Regions from separate parts of the Homo sapiens genome. Here regions 2, 3, 4, 5 and 6 are each linked to region 1. Evidence: promoter capture Hi-C in 16 types of primary human blood cells and fetal thymus (Javierre and others, 2016). All regions are on one chromosome and are shown on one strand. Each heading gives the region's core, a stretch centred on a gene start or on the middle of the fragment in contact. The rest is flanking DNA. Distances are from core to core; before and after follow the strand shown.

Evidence for each region. The method cuts DNA at HindIII sites, captures the fragments that hold promoters and counts their contacts. A CHiCAGO score of 5 or more calls a contact.
Region 2: a fragment that was not itself captured here is called in contact with the fragment with the promoter of APOA1 in region 1 in 6 of 17 cell types (total CD4 T cells, total CD8 T cells, naive CD4 T cells and 3 more); the score reaches 10.5 in total CD4 T cells.
Region 3: a fragment that was not itself captured here is called in contact with the fragment with the promoter of APOA1 in region 1 in 2 of 17 cell types (total CD8 T cells and activated CD4 T cells); the score reaches 7.1 in total CD8 T cells.
Region 4: a fragment that was not itself captured here is called in contact with the fragment with the promoter of APOA1 in region 1 in 7 of 17 cell types (total CD4 T cells, total CD8 T cells, naive CD8 T cells and 4 more); the score reaches 8.0 in total CD4 T cells.
Region 5: a fragment that was not itself captured here is called in contact with the fragment with the promoter of APOA1 in region 1 in 2 of 17 cell types (total CD8 T cells and non-activated CD4 T cells); the score reaches 5.7 in total CD8 T cells.
Region 6: a contact is called between a fragment that was not itself captured here and the fragment with the promoter of APOA1 in region 1, in 1 of 17 cell types (total CD8 T cells). The highest score is 5.0, in total CD8 T cells.

What each region holds. Positions count from the first base shown.
Region 1 is chr11:116,836,372-116,839,600 of GRCh38, forward strand. APOA1 (apolipoprotein A1) reads right to left here and starts at 1,251. Exons shown (of 4, transcript NM_000039.3): 1 at 1,234-1,251; 2 at 974-1,036; 3 at 630-786; 4 at 1-40. The coding sequence starts at 1,016. It also overlaps APOA1-AS. The HindIII fragment of the contact is 2,883 bases long and covers 851-3,229 here.
Region 2 is chr11:117,074,338-117,077,765 of GRCh38, forward strand. The region is part of intron 1 of SIK3 (SIK family kinase 3); the gene reads right to left. LOC124902763 (a long non-coding RNA gene) reads right to left here. Exons shown (of 2, transcript XR_007062899.1): 2 at 2,056-3,428. Among named protein-coding and RNA genes, the nearest start is that of SIK3, 22 kb to the right of the region's middle. The HindIII fragment of the contact is 3,147 bases long and covers 1-3,099 here.
Region 3 is chr11:117,028,071-117,031,677 of GRCh38, forward strand. The region is part of intron 1 of SIK3 (SIK family kinase 3); the gene reads right to left. Among named protein-coding and RNA genes, the nearest start is that of SIK3, 69 kb to the right of the region's middle. The HindIII fragment of the contact is 9,274 bases long and covers 1-3,607 here.
Region 4 is chr11:117,046,930-117,050,514 of GRCh38, forward strand. All of the region lies in intron 1 of SIK3 (SIK family kinase 3), which reads right to left. Among named protein-coding and RNA genes, the nearest start is that of SIK3, 50 kb to the right of the region's middle. The HindIII fragment of the contact is 9,138 bases long and covers 1-3,585 here.
Region 5 is chr11:116,998,227-117,001,538 of GRCh38, forward strand. All of the region lies in intron 1 of SIK3 (SIK family kinase 3), which reads right to left. Among named protein-coding and RNA genes, the nearest start is that of SIK3, 99 kb to the right of the region's middle. The HindIII fragment of the contact is 1,264 bases long and covers 683-1,946 here.
Region 6 is chr11:116,973,648-116,976,926 of GRCh38, forward strand. The region is part of intron 1 of SIK3 (SIK family kinase 3); the gene reads right to left. Among named protein-coding and RNA genes, the nearest start is that of SIK3, 120 kb to the right of the region's middle. The HindIII fragment of the contact is 4,363 bases long and covers 1-3,279 here.

The DNA.
Region 1 (3,229 bases), core at 1-2,500:
GGTGGAGGTCACGCTGTCCCAGTTGTCAAGGAGCTTTAGGCTGGAGGGTGAGACAGAAGGGTTGAGGGCTGGCCTCCCAGCGCCCCAGCCTATCAGGGGTGAGCCCTGGGTGACACCTGTCCGCGGAGGTGCAGTGGCCTAGCATTTCCAGTACACTCTCAACCAACACCCCTGCCCCGCCAGGCCATGCCCCGTTGTGCAGCTGGACCGAGGCACAGAGAGGAGCTAAAAAGGAGACAGAGCTGGGACTAGTGCCCAGTTACGTTGGTCTCCAAAGTGGGCCCTTGAAGGACCTCGCTTCTATGCCTCCAGCGCATTCTCCTCTCCGAAGACAGCCCACAGTCTTGCTGGGCAGGAGCAGAGGAGGTGGTGAAGAAGGGAAAGGGGCTTGCTACACTTGCAGGCACAATGTGGCTCTGTGATCACGCATCGGGCAGCCCTGGTCTGTCCTTTGCAGGGGACATGGGCTGTGACCCTGCCTGGAGATCCCATTCCAGTTTCTCCATCCAGACCATCTGTGGGGCCCAGCTCATCAGATATTAGGTGAGGACTCGGCCAGTCTGGCTTCAACATCATCCCACAGGCCTCTGCCCCCTACCCCTGCCCTCAACCCCAGGCTGGGTCCTTACTTTAGCTGTTTTCCCAAGGCGGAGCCTTCAAACTGGGACACATAGTCTCTGCCGCTGTCTTTGAGCACATCCACGTACACAGTGGCCAGGTCCTTCACTCGATCCCAGGGGCTCTGGGGGGGTTCATCTTGCTGCCAGAAATGCCGAGCCTGGCTCCCTGAGGGTGGGAGGGGAGACCCAGATCAGGCCAGCTGTGGGCTGAGATCTGAGCCGAAAGGCCAAGCTTGGAGGTGGGGGAGAGGGGGCCAGTGAGAAACCTGCTGCCTCTGCCCAGGAGGGTGGGCCACGGGGATTTAGGGAGAAAGCCCCCCGATGGTTGGCTCCCTAGGTTAGGGGACACCTACCCGTCAGGAAGAGCACGGCCAAGGTCAGCACCGCAGCTTTCATCCTGAAGGGCCGTGGGGGACCTGGAGGAGAAGAAGGGCCTGGCTGAGTGGGGTGCCTTCAGCATGCAGAAGCCCCGTGCTCCCCCACTCATTGCAGCCAGGTGAGGAGAAGGGCACAGAGCGGGAGAAGACCTCAGGTACCCAGAGGCCCGGCCTGGGGCAAGGCCTGAACCTTGAGCTGGGGAGCCAGAGTGACCGGGGCAGGCAGCAGGACGCACCTCCTTCTCGCAGTCTCTAAGCAGCCAGCTCTTGCAGGGCCTATTTATGTCTGCAGCCAGGGTCTGGGCTGGGAGGCTGATAAGCCCAGCCCCGGCCCTGTTGCTGCTCACTGGTCCTGGCAATGTGGAACTTAAGAGTTCAAGGATCAGCTCTGTCCCTGGGGCTGGGCAAATAGAGTGGGCAAACAGCAAGCTGCGGGGGCTGCAGGGCAGGGGTCAAGGGTTCAGTGGGGGCGGGAGGGGAGTGTCTGCAGGCTTGCAGGTCTCCCGGGTGGGGTCGGGGTTCCCTGCACTCATCCCCTTCCCCTCCATGGGAGTGTGTGGGCAGTTGCCATTGTCCATTGTGTTGGCAGAGGAGGGGAGGGGAGGGACGCTGGGACTCCTCCACCAAGGAGACTGCCTCCCCCACCACCAGCATTCCAGGGAGACTACTTCACTCCCCTCCCCCTTCCCCCGCCCTGTCCTCCCACCAGTGCTCTTCTTTAGTCCCCAGCAGGTCCTCCAGGCCTCTCTCCAAGCCTCCCAAACTGGTAAACCTGGGGAGAGGGGAGAGCCCTCCGTGGCTCCCAGACTGAGGTTTCGGAGACCTCTTGCATTTCAAAACACTCCAGAGATCAATTCGGAGCTGCCAACTTTTAATTTTGTCATGTAAAGATATTGTCCGCCTCCAAAAAACCCTCACCATCTACAGTGACCATCACTTCAAAAAGGAAAGGCTTTAACAAAAAAGGGCATAATCTCAGAATTACATTACAGAATTGAAGCCCCTTAGATTGAAGACGTCTCCCTTTGCATTGTTCACACTTATATTTGATCACGCACAGGTGTGACTGGATCTCAGCCCTTGGGAAGCCCTGGTGTGGGGAGAAGACCTCTGGGCAAAGGAAGTGGCAGGAGACCTGCTTTCTCATTTCACTTGGCCTCCATCTTGCTGGAGGAAGATCGTGGGCAAGTTATATAATCTCTCTGAGCCTCGGTTTTCTATCTGCAAAATGGGGCAAGAATGGTCAGGGTTGTTGGAGGCCCCTGAGACAGCCTGTGAATGTAAAGTGCTGTGTGTCCGTTGGTGTTTGCAGCACCATCTTGTCAGGTTTCTCCTGGAAGGCCCAGACCTCCCCCAGCAGGTTACTGATAGGACCTGAGTCCTAGAGCCTGTGATGCAGGCTGAGAGGAACTGTGACATCACTCCAGCCTCTCCCCATGCCACCATCTCACAGATGAAGAGACTGAAGAGCACAGAGGGACTTTGCCCAGAGGCTGTCATCTCTCAGGGAGTTAGAAGAAAGGCTGGACCTAGAACCCAGTCTCTGGACTTGGGATGCAGGGCAGAAATGTACCCTGTACCATCACTCCAGGAAACTCCCTAACACTAGAAACCAGGCTGACATCTCTGTTTACCAGATCAGGGAGTGGTCGGCCTCATGCCTTTCACTTCAGAGAAGATTCTGGAGCCAGAAAACCTCAAATCTAAGGGTCAGGCAGGTTCAAATCCAGCTGCCTGACCCTGGATGAGTTATGATACATCACCTCCCCACACATCAGTTTCTGATTGAAGATAATGATAGAATATGCCATCGCCCTGAGTTATGGCAGGGGTTACTGTGTGGCAAGCAGAATAACGCTCCCCAAAGATGTCCACAGCCTCATCCCTGGAACCTGTGGCTTTGCTACCTTCCATGGCAAAAAAAGATTTTGCTAGTGTGATTAAGGACCTGGAGATGGGGTGGTTGGCCTGGATTCTCCAGGTGGGCCCATTGTCATCACAGGGGTCCTTAATTATACAAGAGGGAGGCAGTGGCCTCAGAGTCAGAGAAAGAGATGTGAGGATGGCAGTGGAGATCAGACTCGTGACTGCTGGAAGGGGGCCATGAGCTGAGGGACATGAGCAACCCTTCCCTAGAAGCTGGAGAAGGCAAAGGATTTTTCCCTGCAGCCTCCAGGAGCACAGCTCTGCTGCCACCATGATTTTAGCCCAGTATGACCCATTTTGGACTTC
Region 2 (3,428 bases), core at 276-2,775, 240 kb after region 1:
CCCTACAGCCCCACAACAGTATATGTATTTTGGGTAAAGTAGACAGATACTCAAATAGGAGTCAGAAGACCTTGGTTCTACCTCTACTTCTGCCACTTTACTAGTTATGAAGTGATAAAATGTTGTACTTACCTTACAGGAAGGCTCAAATAGACATTTATGAACATGTTCTATAGATGTATTATTATTATAAGTATAGCAAGTTTCTATTATGACAATATTTACTTGTCAATATAAAACCCTAACATATTTTTTTAAATCCTCTAGCATTGTTTTATTAGCAACAGCTTAGAAACAACTCAAGGCCAGGCGTGGTGGCTCACGCCTGTAATCCCAGCACTTTGGGAGGCCCAGGCAGGAGGATTCCCTGAGGTCAGGAGTTTGGGACCAGTCTAGCCAACATGGTGAAACCCTGTCTCTACTAAAAATACAAAAAAAAATTAGCCAGGTGTGGTGGCATGAGCCTGTAATCCCAGCTACTGAGGGGACTGAGGCAGGGAAATTGCTTGAACCAGGGAGGTGGAGGTTGCAGTGAGTCAAGATCGCGCCATTGCACTCCAGCCTGGGTGACAGAGAGAGACTCCGTCTCAAAACAAAAAAAAAAAACAACTCAAATGAAATATCTAAAAAATATATATAATACATCCTTTCATTGGAATACCACGTAGCTTTTTTAACATTAGATACGAGAGTGAAAAAAGTAAGATGCAGACTATTGTATATTATTTACTATAATTTGTGTTAAAAGAGGAAATAAGTAGTAGATATTTACATTTACTTCTATACACATAAACTATCTCAAGACATATAAGACACAGATAATATCAACTGCCCCTGGGAAGGGAAATCTGGATGATCATGGGGTATGTGTGAACAGGATACTTTTCACTGTATTTCACTCTTCTTTAGCTTTTATGATTTTGAACCTAATAGTTCCCTAAATGGGGTAGGCATAGCATCTCCTCATACAACTATAAACCTGAGAAATAAGCTGAACCATTAATGAGGATGACAGCATATCTGACAACTCATTTCCTGGGCCAGCCTCAAACTCACAATTACCACCACCTAAAACAAATTACATTCCCTTCCATGATCTCACCAAGTAACAAGAGTTAATTTATTCCTTCTAGGCAAACTTCCTGACTTGCTATACGTATCTATGTGCTATGTATATCCACATTCTATGTTATTGATTATTTTTTTTTCTTTTTTTTTTTTTTTGAGGAATCTCAGCTCTGCTGCCCAGGCTGGAGTGCAGTGGCACGATCTCGGCTCACTGCAAGCTCCGCCTCCCAGGTTCACGCCATTCTCCTGCTTCAGCCTCCCAAGGAGCTGGGACTACAGGTGCCCGCCACCACACCTGGCTAATTTTTTTTTTATTTTTAGTAGAGATGGGGTTTCACAGTGTTAGCCAAGATGGTCTCGATCTCCTGACCTTATGATCTGCCCACATTGGCTCCCAAAGTGCTGGGATTATAGGCGTGAGCCACCAAGCCTGGCTTTTTTTTTTTTTTTTTTTTTTTTTTGAGACAGTTTTTTGCTCTTGTTGCCCAGGCTGGAGTGCAATGCACGATCTCGGCTCACTGCAACCTCCACCTCCTGGGTTCAAGCAATTCTCCTGCCTCAGCCTCTCTAGTAGCTGGGATTACAGGCGCCTGCCACCATGGCTGGCTAATTTTTGCATATTTAGTAGAGACGGGGTTTCACCATGTTGGCCAGGCTGGTCTCCAACTCCTGATCTTAGGTGATCCACCCACCACAGCCTCCCAAAGTGCTGGGATTACAGGTGTGAGCCACTGCACCCGGCCAGTTACTGATACTCGTAAAACTTACCGTTGCAGGGTTCCATCACAAGCCTTGGAAGAGCTCTCTAAATCAGAACACTTCCTACCTTCAGGGCCTGTTGAGGATCCATTCCAATGCTAACTTTTCTGAACCAAGGACTGAGTTCTCCCTCTTAATCACTCAAGATTCACCACAGGACCCCAGCAAATCATTAATTTGAACTCCAATGATTAAATGAGCACAATGCAGACCATCCCCCTATTTACAGAAGAGTAAATTATGTTAATTTCTTCAATTTAGCAGAAAGGCATTCTTCCGAAACCTTTCAGAACAACTGTTATTTACCAATTTACCAAGGCAACATTCTCCCAAAATAAAATTTTAAATGATATTGCCTTAAACACAATTTTTTTTTTTTCGAGATGGAGTCTCACTCTGTCACCCAGGCTGCAGTGCAGTGGCGCGATCTTGGCTCACTGCAACCTCCACCTCCCGGGTTCAAGCAATTCTCTGCCTCAGACTCCCAAGTAGCTGGGATTACAGGCACCCGCTAATTACCATACCCGGCTAATTTTTGTATTTTTATTTTGTATTTTTAGTAGAGACGGGGTTTCACCATATTGGCCAGGCTGGTCTTGAACTCCTGACCTCATGATCCACCCGCCTCGGCCTCCCAAAGTACTGAGATTACAGGCATGAGCCACTGCACCCGGCTGCCTTAAACATAATTTTAATTATTCTGGAATGAGACCAGGTGTGGCTGCTCATGCCTATAATTCCAGTGCTTTGGAAGGCCAAGGTAGGATAACTGCTTCAGGCCAGGAGTTTGAGACCAGCCTAGGCAACAAACCGAGACACTGTCTATACTAAAAATAAAACCACTAGCCAAGTGCAATGGTGTGTGTCTGTAGTCCTAGCTATTCAGGAAACTGAGATGGGAGGATCACTTGAGCCCAGGAGTTTGAGGTGACTGTGAGCTACAATCACACCACACTGCACTCTGGCCTGGTCAACAGAGCAAGACCCTGTCTCTAAACAAAACCAAAAAACCATTCTGGAATGACATGACAGGACATGAAACACTGCTCAAAACAGCAGCTAATGCTACCTCCATTCTTGCTCCCTATGGCAAGCAGGTTATTTTTGGACCTAGCCTATGAAGCAGCACTTTGTTGACTATGAGCTTCATCCTCTGAATATTCCTTTCACATTCAACCTTGGTCCTCGCTTTCTGGTGCCGAGCTCCAAAACCTCAATGGAATACATAATGAAATGTTGGGTTACTTTAGGGCAAAAGGTTAAGCCTACAAAAGCTTTCTAATTGGGAAATCTCTTCCATGAAAGCATACAGAAATTTGCTGACTCTTTCTTTTCCTAATAGCTATTTGCTTTCTTTGGAAAAAATCTTCAGTCAAACACAAAAGCCAACTACCTAGCAAAGCTCAAATACAGACAGGTGTTTTGCAAGCACAGTAAATCTCAAGGGTAACAAATCAACAAGAGATAATATCTACTAATAAGCTGCTTATTGCTGTGCTGGGAGAGTTAACTGCCTAAAAATCTCTCAGTTAAGACTAGCATTGAGGAAAAAAAAAATTGTAATACAACTAAAAGAAAAACAAGCTCATTTTCTACCCAGA
Region 3 (3,607 bases), core at 254-2,753, 190 kb after region 1:
CTACTACTACTGTTAATAGTATTACTACTACTACTACCACCTCCCTTTTGCAAAAGAACTAAAGATCAGAGGAGGGAAACAACCTGCTTAAAATTATATCAACACTAAGAAATGACGGTAGGACTCAAACTCAATTCCTATGACTCCAAAATCTGTGACTTTTTTCTTAAAGTTAAACCCTTTTTTCATTTTTCAGCATGAAACCCTTCATTCATTCACTCATATCTTCATCTACTCAAGAAATATTTATTAAACACCTACTACATGCCAGATGCTAATCTCAAGCCCTCAGGAAACAATTAAGAGTACACAGTTCCTGCTCTAGGCGGTAGAAAGCATGTGTTACAATCTAGTATAATAGGGACAGCTTAACAACAACAACAAAAGTACACCAATGTAGGAGGTGGCAGAAAGAAGTAGGTACATGGCACAGTGGGAACACAGACAAGGAAGCCCTTAACAATTCCTATAGAGGGCTTGCTTTCCATAGGAGGTTATGATGTTACCTGAATCTTAGGATGTGAAAGAAATCTGGCAAATGGATAGAAGAAAGAAGCATGTCAAGGAAAAAAAAAACATGAGCAAAAGCATAAAGGCCTGAAAAACAATTCTAATATGTTGAGGAAACTAGCTCAGCATGACTGGGAGCCATATCAGGCATGGCCAGGGATAAATCATGAAAGTAGCCTGGAGGAAGGAAATCAAGACCAGGCTCATGGGTGCCATGCTACAGAGAACAGGCTTTATTTTACAGGAGACAGAAGACAGTGACGGTGAGAAACATGCTGACATGCATGCATTAAAATGACAAACTGGGCCAGGCATGGTGGCTCATACCTGTAATCCCAGCATTTTGTATATTTTGTTTTTGAGATTGAATCTTGCTTTGTCACAGTGGTGTGATCTCGGCTCTCTGCAACTTCCACCTCCTGGGTTCAAGTGATTTTCCCGCCTCAGCCTCCCGAGTAGCTGAAATTACAGGCACCCGCCACTACGCCCGGCTAATTTTGGTATTTTTAGTGGAGACAAGGTTTCACCATGCTGGCCAGGCTGGTCTCGAACTCTTGACCTCAAGTGATCCGCCAACCTCGGTCTCCCAAAGTGCTGGGATTACAGGTGTGACCCACTGTGCCCAGCCTATCCCAGCACTTTGGAAGGCAGATGCAGGTGGATCACTTGAGCTCAGGAGTTTGAGACTAGCCTGGGCAACATGGTGAAACCCTGGATCTACAAAAAATTAGCTGGGCATGGTGGCAAGCACCTATAGTCCCAGCTACTTAGGAGGCTGAGGTGGAAGGATGAATTGAACCCAGGAGGCAGAGGCTGCAGTGAGCCAAGATTGCACCACTGCACTCTAGCCTGAGCAACAGAGCCAGACCCTGTCTCAAAAATAAAATTAAAAATTAAAAGACAAAATGGTTTTAATGTGAAGGATGAAACTGAGGGATGGAACTAGGTCAGAAATGGGCGTATCAGTTAAGACACCAATGCAGCAGTACAAAAAATATGAGGGCCTAAATTAAGGCAGTGGAAAGGGGAGGTAACAAATTAGAGAGCTATTTTGGAAGCAGAATCTTAAAATGTAATGATTGACCAGTGGTACACAAAATTCAAGGAGAAATCTAGGCTAACTCCCAAACTTCTGGCTTCTACCACTGGATGGGTCATACTGCCATCAGTGGAGATGAAGTTAGTGTGGTTGGATAATGAGTTCAGTTTTGGATAAGGGAGTTACATTTGTGATGGCTATGTAGCATAAGGTAAAAATATCTAGTATGGTGTTAGAACTGGTTCCCAAAACTCAGCAGAGATATGGGATTTAGGAGTCATTATGATGTAAACTGTAGTTGAAGGCAAGGGGCTGGTTCTGATTAGCTCAAAGAAGAATATACATAGAGAGAAGAGGGAGAGCACAGAACCTAAGGAAACCCAGATATCTAAGGAGTAAAGAGAAACAATTTTGGAAAGCTGAGAACAGAGTTGTAGGAGGAGAGCCAAGAAAAAGTGTTTGGAAACCTTGAGTGAAGGTGAGTAACATGAACATTTATTTTCCTAGAGAAAGGAGAAATGTAAGAATATAAAAGGGGCATAAATCGAAACTATATTTCTGCAAAGTATTTTGGCAATGTATAGTTAACAAAGGCCTCTAAGATGCCCACGTCGTGACACAGTAATTCTACCTCTAAGAATGTATTGTAAGGAAGGAATCAGAAATCCTGACAGAAGTTTACATACAAAAATGTTTCTCACAGCATTATTTGCAATAGCAACAAAATGGAACTACTTTAAACATATGAAAGGAATGGTTAAATAAATTACTGTACATCCATACAACAAAGATTATGAGCCATTTAAAATCTATATTCATGGATAATTTTAAGTGATAAAAATACTCATGATATTGAGTATTGTGAAAAAAGCAAGACACAACTGCATATTCAGTTAACTATATAATATAAAAATGCAGAGGGCAAAAAAATGTATAAAATACAACAAAATGTTACTGGAAGTTATATACAGTTATTGAGATCACATGTGGTTTTTTTCTGCTTTAGCCTTTTTTCCTGCATTTACTGAATTTAATGATATTATTTTTTCCTTTAAAACAATTTGTTTTAAGACACAGTCTCATTCCCGTTGCCCAGGCTGGTGTGCAGTGGCAGGACTACAGCTCACTGCAGCCTCGACTTTCCAGGCTCAGGTGATCCTCCCACCTCAACCTCGCAAAGTACTAGGATTACAGGTGTGTGCCAGTGCACCCAGGCTTTTTAAAAATTAAACTCTATTTTGAGATATCTCACTGTGGTTTTAATTTGCAGTTCCCTAACGGCTAATGATGTTGAACATCTCTTCATGGGGTTACATGCCATCTGTATATCCTCTTCAGTGAAATGTTCCTTAACATCTTTTGCTGTTTTCTAATTGGATTACTTGGGGTTTTTTAATACTGAGTTTGGAGTTATTTATATATTCTAGACAGTAGTCTTTATTGGATATGTGGTTCAAAAATATTTTCTCCCAGTCTGTAGTTTGCCTTTTCAGCCTTTTAACATGGTCTTTAGCAGACCAAAATGTTTTAGTTCTTATGAAGTCCAACTTACCAATTTTTCCTTTTCTAGATCATACTTTTGGTGTCAAGTCTCAGAACTCTTTGCCTAGCTCTATATCCTAAACATTTTCTCCTGTTATTTTCTAAAATTTTTTTTAGTTTTATGTTTTACATTTAAGTCCATGATCCACTCTCAGTTAATTTTTTTATAAGGTGTGAAGTTTAGGTCAGATTTTTCCTTTTTTCCTTTTTTTTTTTTTGTCTTATAGCTGTCCAGTTGCTCCAGCACCATTTATTTAAAAGGCTATCCTTCCTGCACTGAATTGCTTCTGCATCTTTATCAAAAATCAGTTGGGCAATGGCCAATGAATACAGCATTTTATTTTATTTTATTTTATTTTTATTTTATTTATTTATTTGAGACAGAGTTTTGCTCTTGTTTCCCAGGCTGGAGTGCAATGGCGCGATCTTGGCTCACTGCAACCTCCACTGCACAGGTTCAAGGGATTCTCTGCCTCACCCTCCCAAGTAGCTGGGATTACTGGCATGTACCACCAC
Region 4 (3,585 bases), core at 17-2,516, 210 kb after region 1:
AATCTAAACACCTGGGCAATCTGATATCCCCCATCCTATATTTTAAAACTGTAACAGAATCTTTTTTTCCTATATAAAATGCTATGCCATTTATCGGTCTCCCTGAAACTGTATTTCTATTCTGCTTCTTCCACAGTATTTAATATAACTTTTATCATACTTTCCTTAATGAAAACATGTATATTATTGTTTATTTATGTTGGATTGTGGTATGGTTACTATTATAGTAAAACACAATCGATGAAGACAATGCAAATGTTACAAATTTTGAGAACTAAACATAAAAAGTAATTTCCTTTTTTGGAGATGCATCTCTTAATAAGATGTATGGAGGAAGATACCTTGATAAAAGGAAGTTTCACACGTGACACTAGTGTTTTGACTATCCCTTTGTTAGAATCCTGGAGGATTTTATACCTCATAGAAAGGTACAATGGTGAGATTCAAGATGGGTGAAAGGTATGGCTGTCTTCTGTTAATCATAAGAAGGCACAGGGCTAAAGGGAGGGTAGGGAAGGTGGACTAGCATTATATCAGTGTTGCCTTCAAACAAGTCAATTTCAGGAAAGAGTATAAATAAAATATAGAGAATCTGGAAATTTATTCTCTTAAAACAGTCCAAGCCTAGATATTCTTAGACATGTCCTCCAGTTTGAGATCATGGTTCTAAAGCACCAGACTTGGTTCATTTATCGGAACTCAGTAAATACTTGTTGCATTAAAATAGTTCAGGGCCAGATGTGGTGGCTCATGCCTGTAATCCCAGCACTTCGGAGGCCGAGGTGAGAGGACTGCTTGAGCCCAGGAGTTTGAGACCAGCCTGGGCAACATAGTGAGACCTCATATTTACTTATATAAAAAATAGTAACAATATAAATTAAATGAAATTAAATTGTTTATGAAAAAATGTTATTCAATGAGAACATCTAGATCGTACTGATTTTTTTCTAATCAAATGATAAAGTCTGTTGTGAGGATGAAGCAAGATGGTGAATGTAAAACACTGAGAACAATGCCTGACAGCCTCAGTGTGTCCTACCTGCCATTCATCTTAATATTAGTATTCTTAGGCAAATCTTATTCTTTCTCTCCATCTCCCCTACATTTATTTAAATAAGACTAAGGTCTTATTCAGACATGGAAATACGATTTATTTCTAAAACCTTAAATATAGTTCACTCTGCTAAGGAATAATGGTTCAGAATGACCATCTATACTTCATCTTGGTACTATTTTTTATACATACTATGACTTTCACATCACAAGCATACAGGTTAACTTGAGAAAAACCAGAAAGCTATTTATGCAAATAATGGCAAAAATAAGTAGGCCATTGGTGAAAATCATATTTTTGACACTTAGATGAAACCCCAGATTTATTTACCTTTAAAAAGTTAATGAAATACATTTAATTATACAGACATAAGGTCAATTAAAACTTTCCAGGCTGGACGCGGTGGCTCACGCCTGTAATCCCAGCACTTTGGGAAGCCGAGGTGGGCCGATCACCTGCGGTTGGGAGTTCGAGACCAGCCTGACCAACATGGAGAAACCCCATCTCTGCTAAAAATACAAAATTAGCCGGGCTTGGCGGTGCATGCCTGTAATCCCAGCTACTCGGGAGGCCGAGGCAGGAGAATCACCTGAACCCTAGAGGCGGAGGTTGCAGTAAGCAGAGATCGGGCCATTGCACTCCAGCCTGGGCAATAAGAGCGAAACTCCGTCTCAAAAAAAAAACTTTCCCATTAATTCATTATTAAACCAACTTCTTTCTCCCAGTATCTACTAAGAAAGGTCTATGCGGTACATATCCAAGAAAAAAATGCCAGGAACTTTGGCCTATTGAATTTAAGAGTGTCAGAACCCACGTCCTTTAAAATACTTCATGACTAGCCAGGCATGGTGGCTCACACCTGTAATCCCAGCACTTAGGGAAGCTGAGGCATGTGGATCATGAGGTCAGGAGTTCGAGACCACCCTGACCAACATGGTGAAACCCCGTCTCTGCTAAAAATACAAAAATTAGCTGGGCGTGGTGGCGCACGCTTGTAATCCCGGCTACTCAGGAGGCTGAGGCAGGAGAATTGCTTGAACCTGGGAGGCAGAGGTTGCAGTGAGCTGAGATCGTGCCACTGCACTCCAACCTGGGTTGTCACTGGAGTGAGACTCCATCTCAAAAAATTTTTTAAAAAAATACTTCATGATTTCTCTCAGTTTTTTTGTCTAGCATCTAAAAGATTTTTAGGGGTTGTCAACTCTTTAATAATATATTTATAAAAAGTAGTTGATTCCAACCACCTCCATAAACACCATATATTAGGGGATAAATTCTAGGGAGGGATATAAAGTTTAAAAAGATACTTTCCATCTGGACGCAGTGGCTCATGACTGTAATCCCAGCACTTTAGGAGGCCAAGGCCGGGAGATCACTTAAGGTCAGGAGTTCGAGACCAGCCTGGCCAACACAGTGAAACACCATCTCTACTAAAAATACAAAAATTACCCAAGCATCATGGTGCATGCCTATAATCCCAGCTACTTGGGAGGCTGAGGCATGAGAATGGCTTGAACCTGGAAGGCAGAGATTGCAGTAAGCCGAGATCGCGCCACTGCATACCAGCCTAGGTGACACAGCAAGGCTCCATCTCAAAAAAAAAGAAAGAAAGAAGCAAGGAAGAAAAGGAAAAGAAAAAAACCTTTTTTACCCCTGAAAATTTTATTCAAAATAGAGTTTTAAAATGGATCAGTCTAGGTGCAATGGCTCACACCTAGTCCCAACATTTTTGGAAGCTGAAGTGGAGGAATCACTTGAAGCCAGGAGTTTGAGACCAGCCTGGGCAACAAACCGAGATATCATCTCTATACAAATTTTAAAATTAGCCAGGCATAGTGGCACGTGACTGTAGTCCTAGCTACCCAGGAGCTAGGATCCTCCTCCTGAGGATCACTTGAGCCCAGAGTTCAAGTTTATAGTGAGCTAGCATCACAGCACTGCACTCCAGCCTGGGCGTCTGAGCGAAAACCTGTCTCTTAAAAAAAAAATAGGATCTTATATTATAGTATAATTATATAAGATAGCAGCCGGGCACAGTGGCTCACGCCTGTAATCCCAATGCTCTGGGAGGCCAAGGCAGGCGGATCACCTGAGGTCAGGGTTTGAGACCAGCCTGGCCAACATGGCAAAACCTTGTCTCTTCAAAAGTACAAAAATAAGCCGGGCATGGTAGCAGGCACCTATAATCCCAGCTACTTAAGAGGCTGAGGCAGGAGAATCGCTTGAACCTGGGAGACGGAAGTTGCAGTGAGCTGAGATCGCGCCATTGCACAACAGCCTGGGCGACAAGATCAAGACTCCATCACACACACACACACACACAAAAAGATATCACCATTGGTGAAAGTTGGGGGAAGGGTATACAGGACTCGATGTACTAATTTTGTAATTTCCTATGATTCTATAATTATTTCAAAATAAGCTGGGTGTGGTGGCTCATGCCTGTAATCCCAGTACTTTGGGAGGCAGAGGCGGGCAGATCACTTGAGGTCAGGAGTTCGAGACCAGCCTGGCCAACAGGGTGAAACCCC
Region 5 (3,312 bases), core at 65-2,564, 160 kb after region 1:
TTTGGGAGGCTGAGGCAGGCAGATCACAAGGTCAGGAGTTTGAAACCAGCCTGACTAACATGGTGAAACCCCGTCTCTACTAAAAATACAAAAAATTAGCCAGGCATGGTGGCGCACGCCTGTAGTCCCAGCTACTCAGGAGGCTGAGGCAGGAGAATCACTTGAACCCTGGAGGCGAAGGCTGCAGTGAGCTGAGATCATGCCATTGCACTCCAGCATGGGCGAAAGAACAAGACTCCGTCTTAAAAAAAAAAAAAAAAAAAAAATTGACAACCGCTCTTGGAAAAATATCTGAAATTCCTCCTCTTAGCTATAATGGATTTGGGATGTAAAGAGAAACAAATATTTAAAATCTCAATTTCACTATCATGAGAGTCAGGGACTTCAACCATGATCTCATAAAGAAAAAAAATGGCAGGACAAAGGTATGGCTTTCACCATTTCCTCAACCAACTTTATCACTCTAATGCCTCGAGAAAGCCCAGCTAGGGCCTGGCACACAGAGGTTTCATTTAATCTAGTGCTCTGCTCTTTCCACAACTCTAAGAGCACTGAAATTTTTAGAGCCACAGAATCATAAATCTATAGGAGTACAGATATATAAATTTTTGTTTACTATAAGTATGAAATTATTGATCATACAAATATAGAAACTTAGTCAAAATCCCAAACTAATCCAAAAAGCTTAATCAAACTAAAAGTGTATAGTTAGACAATTATTTTTACTAAGTGACCCATTTTGAGTAAGTTAAGATAAAACTGACAAATACAGGTAGCCTCAAGAACAAAGGTATATAAAATCAAGGCAAATTCCAAATCCAATTCCAGATTTAAACAACTAATGAGAGTGTTTAGTTTTTACTTCAGAAGATGTATGAAAAATATAGTTTCACAAACACAAGGGAACCAAACTTGCCTAGAGTTTGACCATATTGTTTAAAATGTTAGAACAGTTCTGGAATCATAGGTTTGAATCCAAAGTTTTAAAGCATTTTGTTTCTTATCAGTTGATATACTTCACTTGTAGGTCCATCTCTTCTTTATGCTAAGTTGTACTAACAGAACAGACATTTTGTAATTAAGACATATATGTGTTTGCACTCCAACTACGGTTGTAAACTTAAATGTCTGACTTTTCTGAAACTCAACTTCAATTCTTTCTAAAAAAAATTTTTTTAATCTGTGATTCCTCTGAGCACAGGGCAATCATCAATGACAACTAAGTTTCAAATTCTAACTGCCCACTATTGAATTTAGATGGACACCTGTTTGCATCAGTTTGAAGTGCAACATATTCATATGTCTTGTGAGATCTCTTTTCATTTTCATCTCTTTGTTTTTTGTGGCATTTTGTTTTCTTTTCTTTTCTTTTCTTTTTTGTTTTTTCAGTAGAGATGGGGTTTCACCAGGCTGGTCTCAAACTCCTGGCCTCAAGTGGTCTACCCACCTCAGCCTTCCAAAGTGCTGGGATTACAGGCGTGAGCCACTGCACCCAGCCCATTTTCATTTGTTTTCTCCCTCTTCTAAACAACATTGCAGTAAATACTCTTATGACTACATTCTTGTTTTGACCTACTATTATTTCTATAAGACAAATTCTTAGAAATGAAAATCCTAAGTCAAAGAATATATACTTTCCAGGTTGTTGATACATTATTGAGACATACCATTACTAAATTATTTTCCATTGAAATCATGCCTACCTAGTCCCCAAATCCCAGAGCAACAGTGGGCATAATTTGTTTAATAAAGTTTTTCCATTATGGCAAGTAAAAAAGAATGTAGTTATAATTGCCATTTGTTTGATTGTGCATGATATGTAAGTAAGGTAAATATCTAATATTAGATATGTATATTAGATAGTTATAATTTTTTTCATTGTTGCTAAAACTTTCTATCAGGTCACATTTAGCTCAAGGGCCTATTGCCCAACCTTAATTTTAGCAAGCTTATATAAAAGGGGAAAGTACAGTATGGAATAACACTGTTCTACTATTTCTGTCTTAAAAACGACTTCCTCAAACCTAATGTTGGGCAAGATAACATCTCCATTACTTATGCTCCAATACAGAAGATGTGCACAGGAGACTTGACACAATACTGTGAATAATAAAATCTATCTGCAATTAGCTACACATTGTTAGAGTTTGTAAGTCAGATCAAGCCACTTGGGATTTGTTTGTTTTTTAACCACTTTCTTAGATATCCCTTTTAAAATCTTAAGTGCCTTTTAATGCACAGTTCTGTCATGAAGCCAAGAAATAATAAAATAAGGGGAATATCAATTCTGTCTAATGCTGTCAGATTACTAAAACATTAATGATGAAGCATCATATTAAAGTGATGTATCTTATAAAAGTAACATTAGATCCCATCAAATTATAACTGATTCATCTCTTCCTACCTTGCCCAAACCAAGCTGAAAGACAAAGTAGCTTTCAGGTTCAAGATTTTCTCTAACTTGTCCAATTTATTCAGACACTGCCAGGACCAGCTCCAAAGTGATTACCTGGTTTTTAATGAATGCATTTCTTACAGACTATTAATGTGCTTCCTGATGCCAGCATCGCTGGAAGGGAATAACTAGCCCAATGAGATCATTAGTCATTGACACCAGATTATAGTAACATTAGGAAATGACGACGGGTTGCTTAGCTGCAGTTTTCCAAATGCTGCTAGGATAAAGAGAACTGACAGTAATCACCTCCACAGAGAATCACAGACTAAATCTATCCATTAAACAGTGTTCCTTCATCTTCTCAGCAAAGGAGCTCAGCTACAGAAGTTAACCTTCTTGGCAAACATTCTTTATCTATAGGAACTAGATTATAATATCACTATTCTATCTCCCTCAAAGTTCTTCCACTCTAGTGGGTGGGGCGATAGCACGGAAACCTTCCTCTTCTCTGAGGTTTATGTCACTTGACTGTATGACTATCTAAATTAATGTCTTGACTAATTTCTAGGTCATCTTTCAATGTATAAAAAGTAATCTGAGGCCAGGTGCAGTGGCTCACGCCTGTAATCCCAACACTTTGGGAGGCCAAGGCAGGTGCATCACCTGAGGTCAGGAGTTCAAGACCAGCCTGACAAATATGGTGAAACCCCATCTCTACTAAAACTACAAAAATTAGCCAGGCATGGCGGTGTGCACCTATATTCCCAGCTACTTGGGAGGTTGAGGCAGGAGAATCACTTGAACCCAGGAGGTGGAGGTTGCAGTGAGCTGAGATCGCCCCACTGCACTCCAGCCTGGGCAACACAGCAAGATTCCATCTCAAAAAAAAAAAATTTAAAATAAAGTAATTTGAG
Region 6 (3,279 bases), core at 698-3,197, 140 kb after region 1:
ACCTGAGCCAGGTGATCAAGGTTAGCATCAACAGTAATAAGTCATGTTGATAGTATGTGCCCTTGGTATGATGTGATGAAAATGGCGCTTTACCTTGGTTATCTTACCACTCAAAACCTATAACCCCAATCTAATCATGACAAAGACATCAGACAAATTCCAACTGAGGAGCATTCTACAATACCTGACCAGTACTACTCAAAACCATTAAGGTCATCAAAAACAAGAAAAGACTGAGAAACTGTCACAGCTAAGAGAAACCTAAGGAGACATGGTGACTAAATGGCGTGTGGTATCCTGGACAAGATCCTGACACAGAAAAAGGACATTTTGGTAAAAACTAACGGAATTTGAGTAAAGTATGAACTTTAATAAGGATGTACTAATATTGGTCCATTAATTATGACAAATGTATCATATTACTGTAAGATAATAAGAATAGAGGAAACTGACCGTGGGGTATTTGGGACCTCTGTACTGTATCTGCAATTTTTCTACACATCTAAAGCTATTCTAAAATAGTTAACTGCAAACATCATAATGGAATGCTCTGCTCTTCTAGCACTACATTCAAATTCAGTCTTAAATTGTTTTGTTAGGAAACTTCTATTTAATGTTGGAGATACCAGACTAAACAACAGCTTTCTGCTTTCCGTCAGTTCAAGTAACCAGATCGCTTAACAAACAACATTTCTTCACTAGACTCACTAGACCTATATCCAGAATCAAAATGGTTTCCATATAAAGAACACTTTGGAACCCTTTTTTTCCCCCTTTTGAAACAGGGTCTTTGTCACCCAGGCTGGAGTACAGTGGCACGATCACAGTTCACTACAGCCTCAACCTCCTGGCCTCAAGTGATCCTCCCCAGCGACTGGGCCTACAGGCATGTGCCACCATAGGGGTTTCTGTTTGTTTGTTTGTTTGTTTTTGTAGAGACAGTGTCTTGTTATATTGCCCAGGCTGGACTCAAACTCCTGGCTGTAAGTGATCTGCCTTGGACTCCCAAAGTGCTGGGATTACAGGTATAAGCCACCGTACCTGGCCTTGAAATCTTTTTTAAAAATGTATTATTGAAGAATTTTTCTTTTAGACATAGTTTTGTGAACCTGATATCAAGTCACAGGGTATTAAGTTTTGACTTACAGTGTGGTGCTGGGAAATCGGTTTTCTCAATTGTATTTTTTCCTTTTATTTAATAATGTTAGTTAAGGAATCCATGTTTTCTTGTTGGCCTGTACTGCCAGAAAGCAAAAGCTAAGTGAACTGTGGTAGCTCTACTTAGCCTAAGTTTTCTGGTAAAATAGTATCCATCTCTCCTCTTCCCTAGACTATTTGGCCCTAATTCTTTTAAATTTGTTTTAATCTGTTGATCTTCTGTTAAAGATACCTGAAACTCTTTCTGAAAGTAGATTTTTTTAAAAATTGACAAATATTTAGCCCGAACGAGGACATGAAATTCATTAACAAGACAAATAATCACATTAGTATTTCTCCTCAGCAAGAATTTCCCTGCTTTCTTTGTATTCTAGTTATTTAAAAAAAAAAGCAGCTTTATTGAGATATTCACATACCATGCAATTCACCAATTTAAAGTGTAAAATTCAACGTGTTTTATAAATTCACAGGATAGTGCAACCATCACAATCTAACTGAACATTTTTGTTCCGACTGAAAAAAACCTCATACCTGTTTAGCTGTCACTCCTCATTCCCCCACTCCTATCCCTCCACCAGCCCTAGGCAACCACTAATCCACTTTCTTTCTATAAATTTGCCTATACTAAATATTTCATCTCAATGAGATCATACAATATCTGGTCCTTTTGTGACTTGTTTCTTTTACTTGGCATAATGTTTTCAAGGGGCATTCACCTTGCAGCATGTATCAGTACTTCATTACTTTTTATTGCCAAATAATATTCCATTGTATGGATATATTAATTTTAATTATCCATTCTTTAGTTGATGGACATTTTGGTTGTTCTGCTTTTTGGCTATTATGAATAATGCTGCCATGAACATTCATAAAATTTTTATGTGAATGTGTTTTCACTTATCTTGGGTTTATACCTACCAGTGGAATTGCTGGGTTATATGGTAATTCCACTTTTAACATTTTTTGGAACATTAAACATTTTGAAGAAATGACAAAGCTGCTGCATCATTAAATTCTCTCTCACCAGCAATGCCAGAAAGTTCTACTTTCCACATATCCTAACCAACACTTGTTATTGTCCATCTTTTTTTATTACAGCCATCTTAGTGGATACGTGGTATCTCATTGAGGATTTCATTTGCATTTTCCTAATGACTAATGATGCTGAGAATCTTTCCATGTGTTTGTGGACTAACTGCATACACTTTGAGGGGCATTACACATTGAAATCTTTCCTCTATTTTTAAATTATTAGACTTTTTACTATTGAGTTATAAAAGTTTTTATATATTCTAGATACAAGTCCCTTATCAGATGTACGATTTGCAAACATTTTCTTCCATTCTATGGGTTGTCATCAATTTTCTGATGGTATTGTCTGCAGAACAAAAGTTTTTAATTTTGATGTAGTCCATTTATCTATTTTTCCCTTTGTCCCTTCTGCTTTTGGTAGTCTATTTAAGAAACCACTGCCTAACTCCAAATCAGGAAGGTTTGCTCGTATGTTTTCTTCTCTTCATAAATGTGAGAGCTAAAACTATAAAACTCTATGAAAACTCTTAGAGAGTTTTGTGGTCCACTTGAAGTTAATTTTTGCATATGGTATAAAGCAAAGGTCCAACTTCATTCTTTTGAACATGGATATACACTTATTCCAGCACTGTTTGGTGAAAAGACTCTTCTTTCTCCAATGAATTATCTTTGCAGACTTAACAAAAGTCAAATGACCATAAGTGTAAGGTTTTATTTCTGAATTCTTGAATCTATCCCATTTATCTGTCTGCTAGGACCACATTATCTTGTTTCTTCTAGTTCTTGACATTCCAGATATTGATAGTTATCTTCCTCTGCTAAGGCTGGTGTTTAGTGAAGTTGTGTGAGCCCCCCTACAGGGCCTAGGACCCAGAACGCAGTTGTGGTGTTTTAGTAACTGTTAATGAATCAAATGAAAAGATTTCTGATTGTGGTTTAGGAGAATTTTTTTCTATTTTAAAAAATGTCAGTAGACAAATATTAAAAATTGTTTTCACAATAAACTATCAAATTAGCAAAATAACAACAGGTAAATATAACTAACACAGAACTAAAATAAGTTACAGGGCAGTGACAATGATAATGGAA